2 separate regions of the Homo sapiens genome follow, and region 1 is linked to region 2. Evidence: promoter capture Hi-C in human tissues and cell types (Jung and others, 2019). All regions are on one chromosome and are shown on one strand. The core of a region is centred on a gene start or on the middle of the fragment in contact, and the rest is flanking DNA. Distances in the headings are between cores, read along the strand shown.

Region 1 (6,670 bases), core at 2,218-4,717, 200 kb after region 2:
AACTTACTACAAAGCTACAGTAATCAAAACAGTTTGGTACTAGAATGAGAACTGACATACAGACCAATGGATAGAAGAGTCCAGAAATAAATCATCATATATATGGTCAGTTAACTTTTAAAAAGATTGCTTAGATTATTCAATGGAAAAATGATGATGCCTTCAACAAATGGTGCTGGGAAAACTGGATATCTACATGTAAAAGAATGAAGGTGGACCCTTATACCAGATCATATACCAAAAGGATATAAAACCTCATAATGAATCAAAGACCTAAATGGAAGAGCTAAAACTATAAAACTCCTAGAAGAAAACATAGGGGAAAATCTTTATGACATTAGATTGGGTAATAGTTTCTTGGATATGATGCCAATAGTGCAGGCAACAAAAGAAAAAAAAATGATAAATTGGAATTCATTAAAAGTAAAAACTTTTGTGCATCAAAGGACATTATCAAGAGAGTGAAAAGAGAACCCATGGGATGGGAGATAATATTAGTAAAACATATATCTGGTAAGGGATTAATATCTGGAATGTGTAAAGACCTCCTGCAACTCAACAACAACAACAAAAGTAGCCCAATTCAAAAACAGGCAAAATACTTGAATAGATAGTTCTCCAAATATATAGAAATGCCCAAGAAGCACATGAAAAGATGTTCAACATCATTAGCTATTAGGCAAAATGCAAATCAAACCCACAATGAGATACCACTTCACATCCATTAGGATGGCTGTTATTTTAAAAAATTGAAACCTGAAAATAACAAGTGTTGGCAAAGATGTGGAGAAATTGGAACCCTTGTGCATTGCTAGTGAGGATGTAAAAGGTGCAGCCACTATAGAACGCAGTATGGCAGTTCCTCAAAAAATTAAACATAGAATTACCACATGATTCAACAATTCCATTTCTGGGTATATACCCAAGAGAATTGAAAGCAGGGACTCAAACATATATTTGCGCACCATTGTTCATAGCAGCAGCATTCACAGTAGCCAAAAGGTGAAAACAGCACAAGTGTCTATTATTAAATGAACAAATACATAAAATATGGTATATACATATAATGGAATATTATTCAGCCCTAAAAAGGAATGAAATTCTGCCACATGCTACAACACCAATGAACTTTGAGAACATTATGCTAACTGAAATAAGCCAGCCTTTAAAAGACAAATACTGTATGATTTCATTTATATGAGGTGTCTAGAATTGCCAAATTCATAGAGACATAAAGTTGTATGGGGGTTACCAGGGGGGTAGGGTCTGGGGAAAGAATGGGGAATTTTTGTTTTATAACTACAGAGCTTCTGTTTGGAATGATCAAAAGTTCTGGATAAGTAGTGGTGATAGGTGCACAAATTATAAATGTGCCTAGTGCCAATGAAAATGACACATACTTAAAAGTGGTTAAAATGGTAACTTTTATGTTATATATATGTTTTATCACAATAAAAGATACACGCTGGTCAATCCTAAGCAGGAGAATGGATAAACAAATTGTAGTATATTCATACAATAAAATACTACTCAGCAATATTTTTTAAAGCTACTTATATGCCCAAAAACATGGCTGAATCTCAAAAACATTATATTTAGCAAGAGAAGCCTTACACAAAGGGATATATACAGATGATTCCACTTATACCAAGTTCTAGAATAGGTTACATTATTCAAAGTGAAAAATATCACAAAGTGGTTGCCTGGAAGGGGGTTGGTTTTGATTGGAAAGGGCCTGGAATTTTCTGAGGTGAAGAAAATGTACTATATTTTGGGTTTCATAGTTGTACATAATTGCCAAAATTCATTTAATTTAACACTGAAGGTTTTATCATATGTAAATTATCTCAGAGATACAGAAAATTTCTATTGGTCAAAATTTCTTTCTAGATGGACAGTACTGACTTGAGTATCCCAATGGTCCTTCTCCTTTCTCTCATCTCCATGGCTGCACAATCTCCTGCCTGTCTCTTTTTGACTGACACTTTCCTTATTTGACTCTGCTAATATATTAAATCAGGTTACATTAACATTTTACAGGCTTGATACATATTCAGTCTTCTTAAGGTGATTTTTCACGTCACCTTCCTGACTCTTTATGAGGTTGTATGACTTCTTCACATAACCTCCCAAAGCCAACCCTACTATAATGATCAAGTTTTTAGCATATACTTCACGATAGCTCCAACGCTAAAATATGACATTACTTTCAGTAGATGAGCCCTAGAACTAAACAAGATGGTCCAATATTTTAGTTTACAGTCAGATAACATGTTTAAGTTGAACTATATGAAATTGCCAATGTTTCCCTTATTTTCAACAGTTACATATGACAATTACATATGCCTCAAACGGTAAAGTTTTGTTTTTGTTTTTGTTTTTGTTTTTGTTTTTTGAGACAGTCTCGTCCTGTCGCCCACGCTGGAGTGCAATGGCATGATCTCAGCTGGCTGCAACCTCTGCCTCCTGGGTTCAAACGATTATCCTGCCTCAGCCTCCAGAGTAGCTGGAGGTGGTGGCACCCGCCACCACACCCAGCTAATTTTTGTATTTTTAGTAGAGACGGGGTTTCACCATGTTGGCCAGGCTAGTCTCGAACTCCTGACCTTGTGACCCTCCTGCCTCGGCCTTCCAAAGTGCTGAGATTACAGGCGTGAACCACTGCGACTGGGCATAAAGTTTTAAAAATTGCATAATCTCACATTTTTCTCAACATCCTTAACAGGTAATCCAACGTAAGATGACTATTTCTTTTAAAATTAGAAAAATTTAATAAATAAGCACAAATGATTAGTTGAATGATTTTAAAAAGAGCTGTCATATAAGTAGTTAGATAATTAAGTTAATTAAATTTAAAGATAATAATTAAATAATTGTTTTAAAAGATTAGTCAAGTATGTAAAAGATATTAACTAAATATTGTTTATATATATATGCTCATGGTGACCCAATATTTTGCTGGAGGTCATCTTGCAACAACAGAGATTAACCTCTGTGTCTCATTCATTGTTACATTCTTAGCACCCAGCAGAGTGCCTGAAATACAGCAGATGCTCAAGAAATATCTGCTAAAATGAAGAAATAAGAAGGACTTTTTGTCAGATGAACGATTACAACCCCAAAACATATATCCCAACATCTTTTGCCTATAAAGGAAGCCCCAAGATAATTTTCATTGCATTTTTCCCATGTTCACATTACAGCCAAATCAACTTTCTTGTTTCTAAGACATACAGTGCCCAAATCAAAGAGAAAAGGTATATCAAAAATCCAAATTTTTCTAAATCATGTCTTCTATGTGACTAGAATAAAAAACAACATAGAGGATTTCAGGTTTGACAATAACAGAAACTTCCAGAAGAGACAGTAGAATGCAACGAGAATATAACTCCTGCCATGGAATATTTAATTTGCTGGAAGCAATATGGCAATCTGTTAGGAGCATGATGCCTATAAATTGGATGGTCCTGTGTTCAAAGGTCAGTTTTTCTCTTTTTTAGACATGACCTTGAGCAAGTTCTTTCACCTCCCTGAGCCCCTATTGCTCATCTGTAAAATGGGGATGATAATTGTTCATTCATTCATTCACCTATTAAATATGTATTGAACACCTACCATACGCCAGGCCTGGAAATGGGCTATGGGACACAACAATGAGCAAAATAGACCAAAAGGCCTGCCCTCATGGAGTTTACAATCCAGAGAGAATGACATGCAAAACATCAAGTAAGTAAAATATACAGTGCGTTTGAAGATGAGCTGAATTTTCAGGAGACTGAAATTCGGCATGAGTTGGTAGGGCAAAAACCAATGGGCTTTGAGTAATTATTGGTAATGGGATGAATTACTTGTACCAATGAGCAGCTTAGAGCAATCACTTAAATAGATTTAAGAGAATCATCACTAGCTAGATAGGCACATGCTTGAATAGATTAGTGATAGACAAACAGAGCAACAGATGGATGAATTAGAGAGTCAAGCAGACAGACCTAAGTAGATTGACACAAATGGTATCTCAAGGTGCCCTGACAACAGCATCTGCTGCTAGAATGACTGACTTTTGATCTTGCACATCTGGCTAGCAAGATAGGCATTAGTGTCTCCCTCACTGGACTACAGGCATCCTTGCAAAATCCTCTCCATCTTTGAAGGTGAGTTGGAAGACCTGGTCTTCCCTTAGGAGAGGACCTATGTAAATCTGTGCCAGGCCTCTTCTCCAAATCTTCCAAAAAATCAATAGGCTCTTTCAAGCAGAGGGTAGAGATGATGCCAAGGGAAAGTCTCTGTAGCAGGAGAAGCGAACAGTCCCAAGAGATAGAAACTAGACACCAGAGAGATGAAGAGAGAATGTATTCAACAAGGAGATGGATGTCAGAAGGTGTCAAGTTTTATTTCAGTAAGACCAGTGGCCCGTCCTTCATCATTTCTCATTTCAGATAATTCAGTGTGGATTGAGTACTGAAAGCTATTGGAGAATTATCGTTGGTCTTCTGGGTGTGATAATGGCAATGCAGCACTGTAGAGAGAGAGAGAAAGAAAAAAAAAAAAGTCTTTCTCCTTTATGTCTGCAGTAGAATAATATGATGTCTGGGATTTACTTTGGCAAACTCCAGCCAGAAAAATAAAAGAAAGAAAGTCGGGGGTTTTGATGAAACAAGCTTGGCAACATTTTTATGATTGTTGGAGTTGTGTTGGGTGCACAAGAGTTCATTAGATACTTCTCTCCACTACTGAGTGTGCTGGAAAATTTTCATAGTAAAAAGTTATGATTTTCCCATTTATTTTCAGAAGGGAAAAAATACACATAAGCACACATATATACACTTGGAGCATTTTTCCAGCTTTAGGGATTAATTCTTTTTGGCAGACGAAAGTCATTCTGTTAAATGATTTATGATATTTAAAGAGCAATTTGGTTCCATTTAATTGCTACCTTAAATTAACTGTTGCCTGAGCCTAGAGAAATGATTGCTACGGCCAGAGTGGAGGAAGAGGTGACAGTGAGCTTCAAGTGGTATTGAGTGATTTCAAGTGTGACCAGCGACTTAGATGAAAGGATGCAGAGTTCCCACGTAAAGGGCAATGCTCTCTAAAAATCACTGCTCTCAACAATCTTCCACCATCTGAGAAGGTTATTTGAATTCCTTCCCAACTGTTCCCAAACAGAGCATTTTGTAATGCAGAGGAATTTTAAAATAATTGAACCCAGACTTATAAATGCCTTCAACATCCAGTCACTACATATTTGTTCAGTATCTACTCTATCACTGGCACTGTGCCAGGCCTAAGGGCTATATGGTAGTAGACAACCTAGAGAAGAGCATTGCTTTTTTTTTTTTTTGAGGTGGAGTCTCACTCTGTCACCCAGGCTGGAGTGCAGTTGCGCAATCTTGGCTCACTGCAAGCTCTGCCCCCCTCAGGTTCAAGTGATTCTCCTGCCTCAGCCTCCCAAGTAGCTGGGATTACAGGCATCTGTCACCACACCCGGCTAATTTTTGTATTTTTAGTAGAGACAGGGTTTCACCATCTTAGCCAGGCTGGTCTTGAACTCCTGACCACGTGATCCACCCGCCTCAGCCTCCCAAAAGTGCTGAGATTACAGGCATGAGCCACCGTGCCTGGCTGAGGATTACTTTCATGAGACTTACGGTCTAGCTGGAAACACAGGCATCCTCAACATATAAGCACATATTAAAGCAATTAACAACCTTCTGATAAGTGGGATTTTTTTTTTTTTTTTTTGCTCTTGTTGCCCAGGCTGGAGTGTGATGGCGTGATCTTCGCTCACTGCACCCTCCACCTCCCAGGTTCAAGTGATTCTCCTGTCTCAGCCTCCTGAGTAGCTGGGTTTACAGGCATGCGCCACCACGCCTGGCTAATTTTGTATTTTTAGCAGAGATGGGGTTTCACCATGTTGGTCAGGCTGGTCTCGAACTCCTGACCTCAGGTGATCCACCTGCCTCAGCCTCCCAGAGTGCTGGGATTACAGGCATGAGCCTGTAGGAACTTTTATAGACCACAGTAAGGATGTGCTGGACATTGGTATAAATGTTCCACAAGTAGTCACTCATTTAATCCTTCCAACAACTCATACGCCTTCTACAGGTAAAGAAACTGAGGCACAGAGAGGATAAGTAACTTGTTCAAGATTATCAGTTATTAACCAGTGGAGCCATGATTAGAACCCCAGATTTGCTGCAGAGCCTCACCTCCTAACCACTCTGCTGTCCAGCCTCTCAAATCAAGGCCACTATTACATATTTTTGGAGTATCTACCATATGCCAAGCTCTATTCTCAGCCCTGGGATAAAGCAGATAATAAAGTCCCTGCTCTCATGGAGCTTTTTGGGGGAGAGGGACAATTAGAAACATCTAAATATATAATATGCCAGAAGGCTATAAGTGTCATGTAGGACAATAATCAATGGAAAAAATAGAAAATGACAGAGGGTCTCAGATGGCAACAGCATGAAGTTCTTGTAAGTTCAAGGACTCTCCAAGAAGGCACTGAGATTGGAGGAGTGAGGTGGGCATGTTAGGAAGTGATGTCAGAAATCAGATGATGCACATACAGCCTTGAAGTTCAATTTAGGAACTTCAGATTCCACTGTGAATAGATCAGGAACCCTCAGGGTCATGAGCTGAGGAGATAGGATACACCTCTTTTTCT
Region 2 (6,510 bases), core at 3,903-6,402:
CTGATGATCTGGCATTAGATCTGTGCCATTGAAGAGGTTCATCCCATTTCTTATTTCCTAGTTTCATACCATTTCCCTCCTGACCCCCCACGACACCCTCCGACCCCCTCCACCTTCCCACCCCCATCCCTGGAAAAATTGTCTTCCAGGAAACCGGTCCCTGATGCCAAAAAGATTGGGGACTGCTGCTGTAATGGCATCTTTATTGCTTTTAGAATAAAATCTAGTCTGCCTACCATGCCTTCAACACCTTGAAAGGTCTGGCCCCACAGATCTCCTCCTCTCCCTCTCCCCCTCACATTCTAGGCCCCAGCCACACTTCCTGTCTACTCTATGAACAAGCCAAATTCACTCTCTCCTCATGTTCCCTCTGCCTAAATGCACTCCCTTCAAAATACATTTCCCCCAGTTCCTCACATAGCCATGTTCTTTTCTTGGTTCAAATCTCAGCTCACCTGTCACCACCTCCAAAAGGCATTCCTGGAGACTAAAAATTGAAAGCATCTTATTTTGTTGTGCAATGATATATTGCCTGATTCTCCAATTAATATGTAAGCTCCACGAAAGTAGATATATCTATTGTTTTTTTTCTTGCCGTATTCCCTTTGCCTAGAACTCTGCTTGACACATAGTAGATGCTCAATAAATGCTCGTGGATCAATCAAATATTCCATTTTAGGTGAGAAATACATAATTTCATAGTCATCCCAAAAGGCAGAGGTGCTGACAGTGTTGTCCCCAGATCCAAACTGGAATCTGTATTCGTTCCCTATTTTTGATCTGACAAATTAACACTTAAGTGGCTTAAAACAACACAAACTTACTCTCTTAGAGTTCTGGAGGCTAGAAATTAGAAATCAATTCCACTGGACTAAATTCACGAGTTAGTCCCTTTTGGATGAATTCCCTGCTATGCCTTTTCTAGCTTCTGGGAGGCCCCTGCATTCCTTGGTTTATGGTTCTGTCCTAGAATCACTCTGACTTTTCATTTCATCCTTACACCTACTTCCTCTGACTCCTCCTGCATCACTTTTATAGGCACCACTGTGATTGCATCCAGCCTGCCCAGACAACCTCTCCATCTCAGGATCTGTAATCACACTGCACAGTCCCTTTTGCCATAAAAGGCAACACACACAGGTTTGGGGATTCAGAGGTGAACGTATTTGGGGGTCATTATTCAGCCTACCACAGATTTAACTCATGGATTTGTGTCATTCATTTCAGCCAGGCCTTCTCTTGAGAAAAGAAGGGCAGCATTCTTTTAGAAATTGAGGTCTCTAGAAACCACCTGGGTCTCTCCACTCCTCACCTGTCATGTAAGGCAAAGGCTATTTGTGCTTTCTCATACCTCCAGAGACAGCTCCCATGCCCCTCACCCTGAACCTGGCCTGTCCACAACCAGAGGAAGCAGGGAACAGCCTGCGGCTCTGGAACTCACCTGAGCCGAATTCCCCAACAGGAGCAGGTGTTAGTATTCAGGACACGGTGTAAGGCTCACCTGCCTCGGCCTTGAGGTCATGTGGCTGCCAGTTGAAGGAGGGTTACGGGGGGCTGCCTAGACTAGATCATGTGGCATAGAGCCCCTGACAGGCCACGAGCCAGAGAATGGGTGTGCCACCTCCAGGTCCCCCAGGCGTAACTGGAGCCTCAGGAGGTGTGTGCTCAGAGAGGTAGGTGGGACAGGTAATACCCCTCTTTTGGGGGATCTTCTCCCTTGGCTCATTTTTTGCCGCTTTCTGACACACACCAACCTCTCATTCTAAGTTTTTGTGTTCTGTTTGATCAATTTTTCAAAACTCTCCACCCTTTAGTTTCACTCTTTCCAAAACTACCTAAAACCACTTATCCTTCTAAGACCCTGTCATGGCTGAGCATGGAATGTTCTGTAACCCAAGGAATGCAGGTAAATCTGAGTGAGATTTGAGTTTTAGTCTGGATTTAACACTCGCTAGCTGTGTAATCTTGGGGGAGTTACTCCACCTCTCTGAACTTGTCTTCTTCCCTGTGACGTGGGTTGTTGTGTTTCATTGTTTGAGACAATGGAGGCAAAAGCACTGAGCACAGTGTCTGACCCAAGAGAAGTGCTCAGTGGGTGATTGTTCTCAGCATTATTAAGATCAAGTCTCCTACCCATGTTTGAAAGTTAAGAGAGAAAAGTGTTTCAGGCTGGTTGTGGTGGCTCATGTCTGTAATCCCAGCACTTTGGGAGGCCGAGGCAGGCAGATTACCTGAGGTCAGGAGTTCGAGACCAGCCTGGCCAATGTGTACAAAAAAAACACAAATTAGCCGGGCATGGTGGTATGCACCTGTAATCCCAGCTACTCGGGAGGCTGAGGATTCAAGGATTCAAGAGAATCACTTGAACTTGGGAGGTGGAGGTTGCAGTGAGCCAAGACTGAGCCACTGCACTCCAACCTGGGTGACAGAGCAAGACTCCATTAAAAAAAAAAAAAAGAAGAAGAAAAAGAAAGAAAGAAAGAAGAGTGTTTCAAGAGCGAAGTGCTGAGAGATTAAGGTTCGTTCAAAAACAAATATTTATTGTGCACTGTCCTAGAGGTAAGATAAAGAGAAAAATATTGATTGAATTTGGTAACATGGATGTCTTTGGTGAACTTGATGAGCAACAGAGCAGGAAATTATGGCCACTGACAACTTGTTATACTCACAGATCCCAAGAGAAGGGGACACACCACACTGGGCAGAGGGGCTGAAGGGAGAGGAAGAGCTGCTGGGAAGTACCAGGGTCGGTCAGGAAGCAAAGAGAGCAAGGGAAAAGGCAGGAAAGAGCCTTTATTGTAGTTTCTGCAGGAAGGAATGGGAGAGGCAAGGTAAGCAGATTTAGGATTGGCTTAGTTTGAATAATTTCAGAGACCTCTGGGCCATAGGAGTTGTCTCTAGTTGTCTGGTACCTGGTCCCTTGGGGTGATCTAAAGCAGCAAGTAGTGACCCTAAGTGTAAAAGCCCCAAAAAGGAGGCCAAGGGTTGGGGGTATGTGGTCTGGATTGATTGATTTGCAGTCGGAAAGGCACATTCACAGATAAGTCGTTTTTGATCTCTAGTAATTATTGAGCCCTGGGAGGGGCAGTCCCTCCATGATCAGTAAGGCCCCAAAATGTACAAGCACCAAATACAGAAACTAGAAAGCATGGTGATTACACTTATGAATAGATTCCAACCCAAACTCCCCATTTTCCTGCCCAAGTCTTTGTCAAGAAAACTCCAGAAGCCACCTGGGGTCACTGTCTTTAATCCTTTGAAGACACCCATAATAAGGTTTAGACAAGGCCTCATGAAAAAGGTATAGGATAAAAACGACTAGTTCAGAAAAAAAAAAGTAAATAAATGAAGAGATAACTTCCCTTTTCATCAAAGAATTGCAAAAATGAACAATAATGAGATCGTTTCCACTTATCCTTTTGGCAAAGATGAAAGCAAGTTACCAATGCTCAGAACTGGTGAGTAGTGTTGGTGGGATTGTAAACCAATTTATAATAATTCTCTGGGGTGCTGTTTGGGAAGAGGAGTCAATATTCCTACAGCTGTGCTACCTCTTTGACCCAGAATTTCCACTCCTTGGACATAATCCTGAGGAGATGACAACACCAGTGCCAGTGGTTACCCTACCACTGAGTGGGACAGGATGGAGAAATGTCCTGAAAAGAGCAATTCACAATAGCAAAGACTTGGAACCAACTCAAATGTCCATCAATGATAGACTGGATTAAGAAAATGTGGCACATATACACCGTGGAATACTATGCAGCCATAAAAAATATGAGTTCATGTCCTTTGTAGGGACATGGATGAAGATGGAAACCATCATTCTCAGCAAACTATCGCAAGGACAAAAAACCAAACACCGCATGTTCTCACTCACAGGTGGGAATTGAACAATGAGAGCACTTGGACACAGGAAGGGGAACATCACACCCAGGGGCCTATTGTGGGATGCGGGGAGCGGGGAGGGATAGCATTAGGAGTTATACCTAATGTAAATGACAAGTTAATGGGTGCAGCACATCAACATGGCACATGTATACATATGTAACAAACCTGCACGTTGTGCACTTGTACCCTAAAACTTAAAGTATAAAAAAAAAAAAGATCAATGCAGTGATCATGGTGATATTTTCCTGCTCAGCCCAAGTTCACACATATTTTATTTTTCTCAACATGATGACAGCCACTCTCACACTGACTTTTGGAATGTCATGTATGTTGAACTGGGTCTGAAGACATGGTTTTAACTCAGGCTCTGTCATTTTCTACCTCAGTGATTGCACAACAGCAAAGCAGAATTTTCACTACTTCCATGAATATAATCATTACTATATGACTTTACTTGCATCATCTCCTTTGGTTACTATTACTACTGTGGGAGATGGGTATTCTCATTTTATAGACAAGGAAATTGACCTCTGGACCTCAGGAAGGTTAAGAAATGAGCCCACTGCCACACAATAAACACCAGATAAAGGAGGCAGACTGACTCCAAAGTCAGTCTATTTAAGTGCAAATTTATTTCGCCTCCAAAGGGACCTCCCAGTCATCAGACCTGATTCTTTGTTGTACAGAGTGGGTCAGGTCCAGTGATGTCTGAACTACCTTCTGGTTCTGACTTTCAGCCATTCTCAGCTCCTCTCTTGCTTGTGTCTGGATTCTAAGGCTGATCTCATGAGAATGGGTGTTTCAGAAGGGTGCCCTCTCCAAGACAGGTGCACCTCCCATCTGGGGCAGTGAATATCCCTTTTGTCCTTATGCAGCCTGGCTTCAGATACTGGCTTCTGCCTGGCTCCTTGATCCCACCCTGCCCTTGTCAGTGACCAAGAAGAAGCCCAGCACCTTGGCACTGCTTTCCCAGTTAATTTCTAACTATGGAATCTCTTGCTGTTAGAAGGTGCGAAACAGTGACCTTGTATTTCCGGGCACAGGTGTGACCCCCCAATGTCAATCATTTGGGGTCTCTAGCTATTAGGAAAAAGAACAACAACAACCTCACAGCTTGGACAAGGCAAACATTATGCCAGGAGGAAAAAATATTCCACCCCCAAGAAAACAATATCAAAAAACAGAACTAGAGACTAATTGGAGGAGAGATTGCCAGCCTGGGGCAAATGTGTATATATAAGTATGAGGCACATCATGACCAGACTAACTCTACCTTTCTGGCTTCAGGTAAGGCTATCTGTAGCTGTCTTCTCCTAGCCCAGCTTCTCCCCATCCTATTTGAGGGAGGTAGGAGAGGAAATTAAGACCTTGGACACTGGGGTCAGACCTGGATTTGAGTCATTATTCTGCCAATTATTGGCTTCATGATCTTTAGTAAGTTAGTTTTCCTCTCTTTGATCCTCTCTGTCCTAGTAACAATGACTACTATTTTTTGACTTATTCCATGAATATTAGTTATGCACCTATTATGTGCCAGGTACCAGGGTTACAACAATGAACAACTTGCTATGTGCTGGGCCCTGCTCGACATATGTCATCTTAGTTAATCCCAGTGACAATATGCAGTGTTTTAGGTCGCATCTTATTAGCGGGTCATAAAATCATTCCTTTTGTGGGTTATATCCAGGGACTTCTTTTAATTAAATATAATAGAATATGTCAGTAAGCAATACAAATTTGAGGCAAGCAGTTAGCCTCTTTGTCCCCCTGTTTTCTCATCTGCAAACTAGGATAATACTTATCTCATAGGGTTGTGGTAAGAATTAAATCACTTAATGTAGTAAGGATATCAATTGTCTTATAAAATTTTATGTGTGTGTGCACATACATGCAGAAGCGACTGCACTAGATCATGACATAAAATGTTTTTCTTTCTTTCTGTCTTTTTTTTTTTGGGGGGGGGGGATGGACTCTCTGTCACCCAGGCAGGAGTGCAGTGGCACGATCTCAGCTCACTGCAACCTCTGCCTCCCAGGTTCAAGCAATCCTCCTGTCTCAGCCTCCCGAGTAGCTGGGATTACAGGCGCCCACCACCATGCCCGGCTAATTTTTGTATTTTTATTAGAGATGGGGTTTCACCATGCTGGCCAGGCTGGTCTCAAACTCCTGACCTTGTGATCCACCCCCTCAGTCTCCCAAAGTGTTGGGATTACAGGCATGAGCCACTGCACCTGGCAACATAAAATGTTTTTCTTTTAGTACATCATGGTCACGAAGATCTGGAAAACGTTGCTCTAGGACCCAATGCCTTTGAGCACATGAATGTCTTTGAACTGAGCCTGGCCCATCATAGATATTCAGTTTGTGAAAGCAACAATCTCCATTTCACAGACAAAAACGGAGACTTAGTAAACTGAAATACCCACATCACAGTGTTAGTGATCAGTAAAGCAGGGATTTGAACCTCAGGTGCAGGCTGCAGCTCCTACATACTTAACCAACATGCCACCCTATTTTGCTGCTATAAACACTGGGGTAATACTGGCATCCACCCTGGACTATTTTTCCAATTGGAAGAAATAGTAAGTGACCACTCCAGAAACATTTAAATGCATTGTG

Evidence for each region. Contacts are between HindIII fragments. The study calls those that stand out against the background at their distance.
Region 1: a fragment that was not itself captured here is called in contact with the fragment with the promoter of UMOD in region 2 in 2 of the 25 tissues and cell types used here (small bowel and thymus).

The regions. Positions count from the first base shown.
Region 1 is chr16:20,148,506-20,155,175 of GRCh38, reverse strand. No RefSeq gene overlaps it. Among named protein-coding and RNA genes, the nearest start is that of GPR139, 78 kb to the right of the region's middle. The HindIII fragment of the contact is 5,218 bases long and covers 859-6,076 here.
Region 2 is chr16:20,351,357-20,357,866 of GRCh38, reverse strand. It overlaps UMOD (uromodulin), which reads left to right and starts at 5,152. Exons shown (of 11, transcript NM_003361.4): 1 at 5,152-5,178. The HindIII fragment of the contact is 15,409 bases long and covers 1-6,510 here.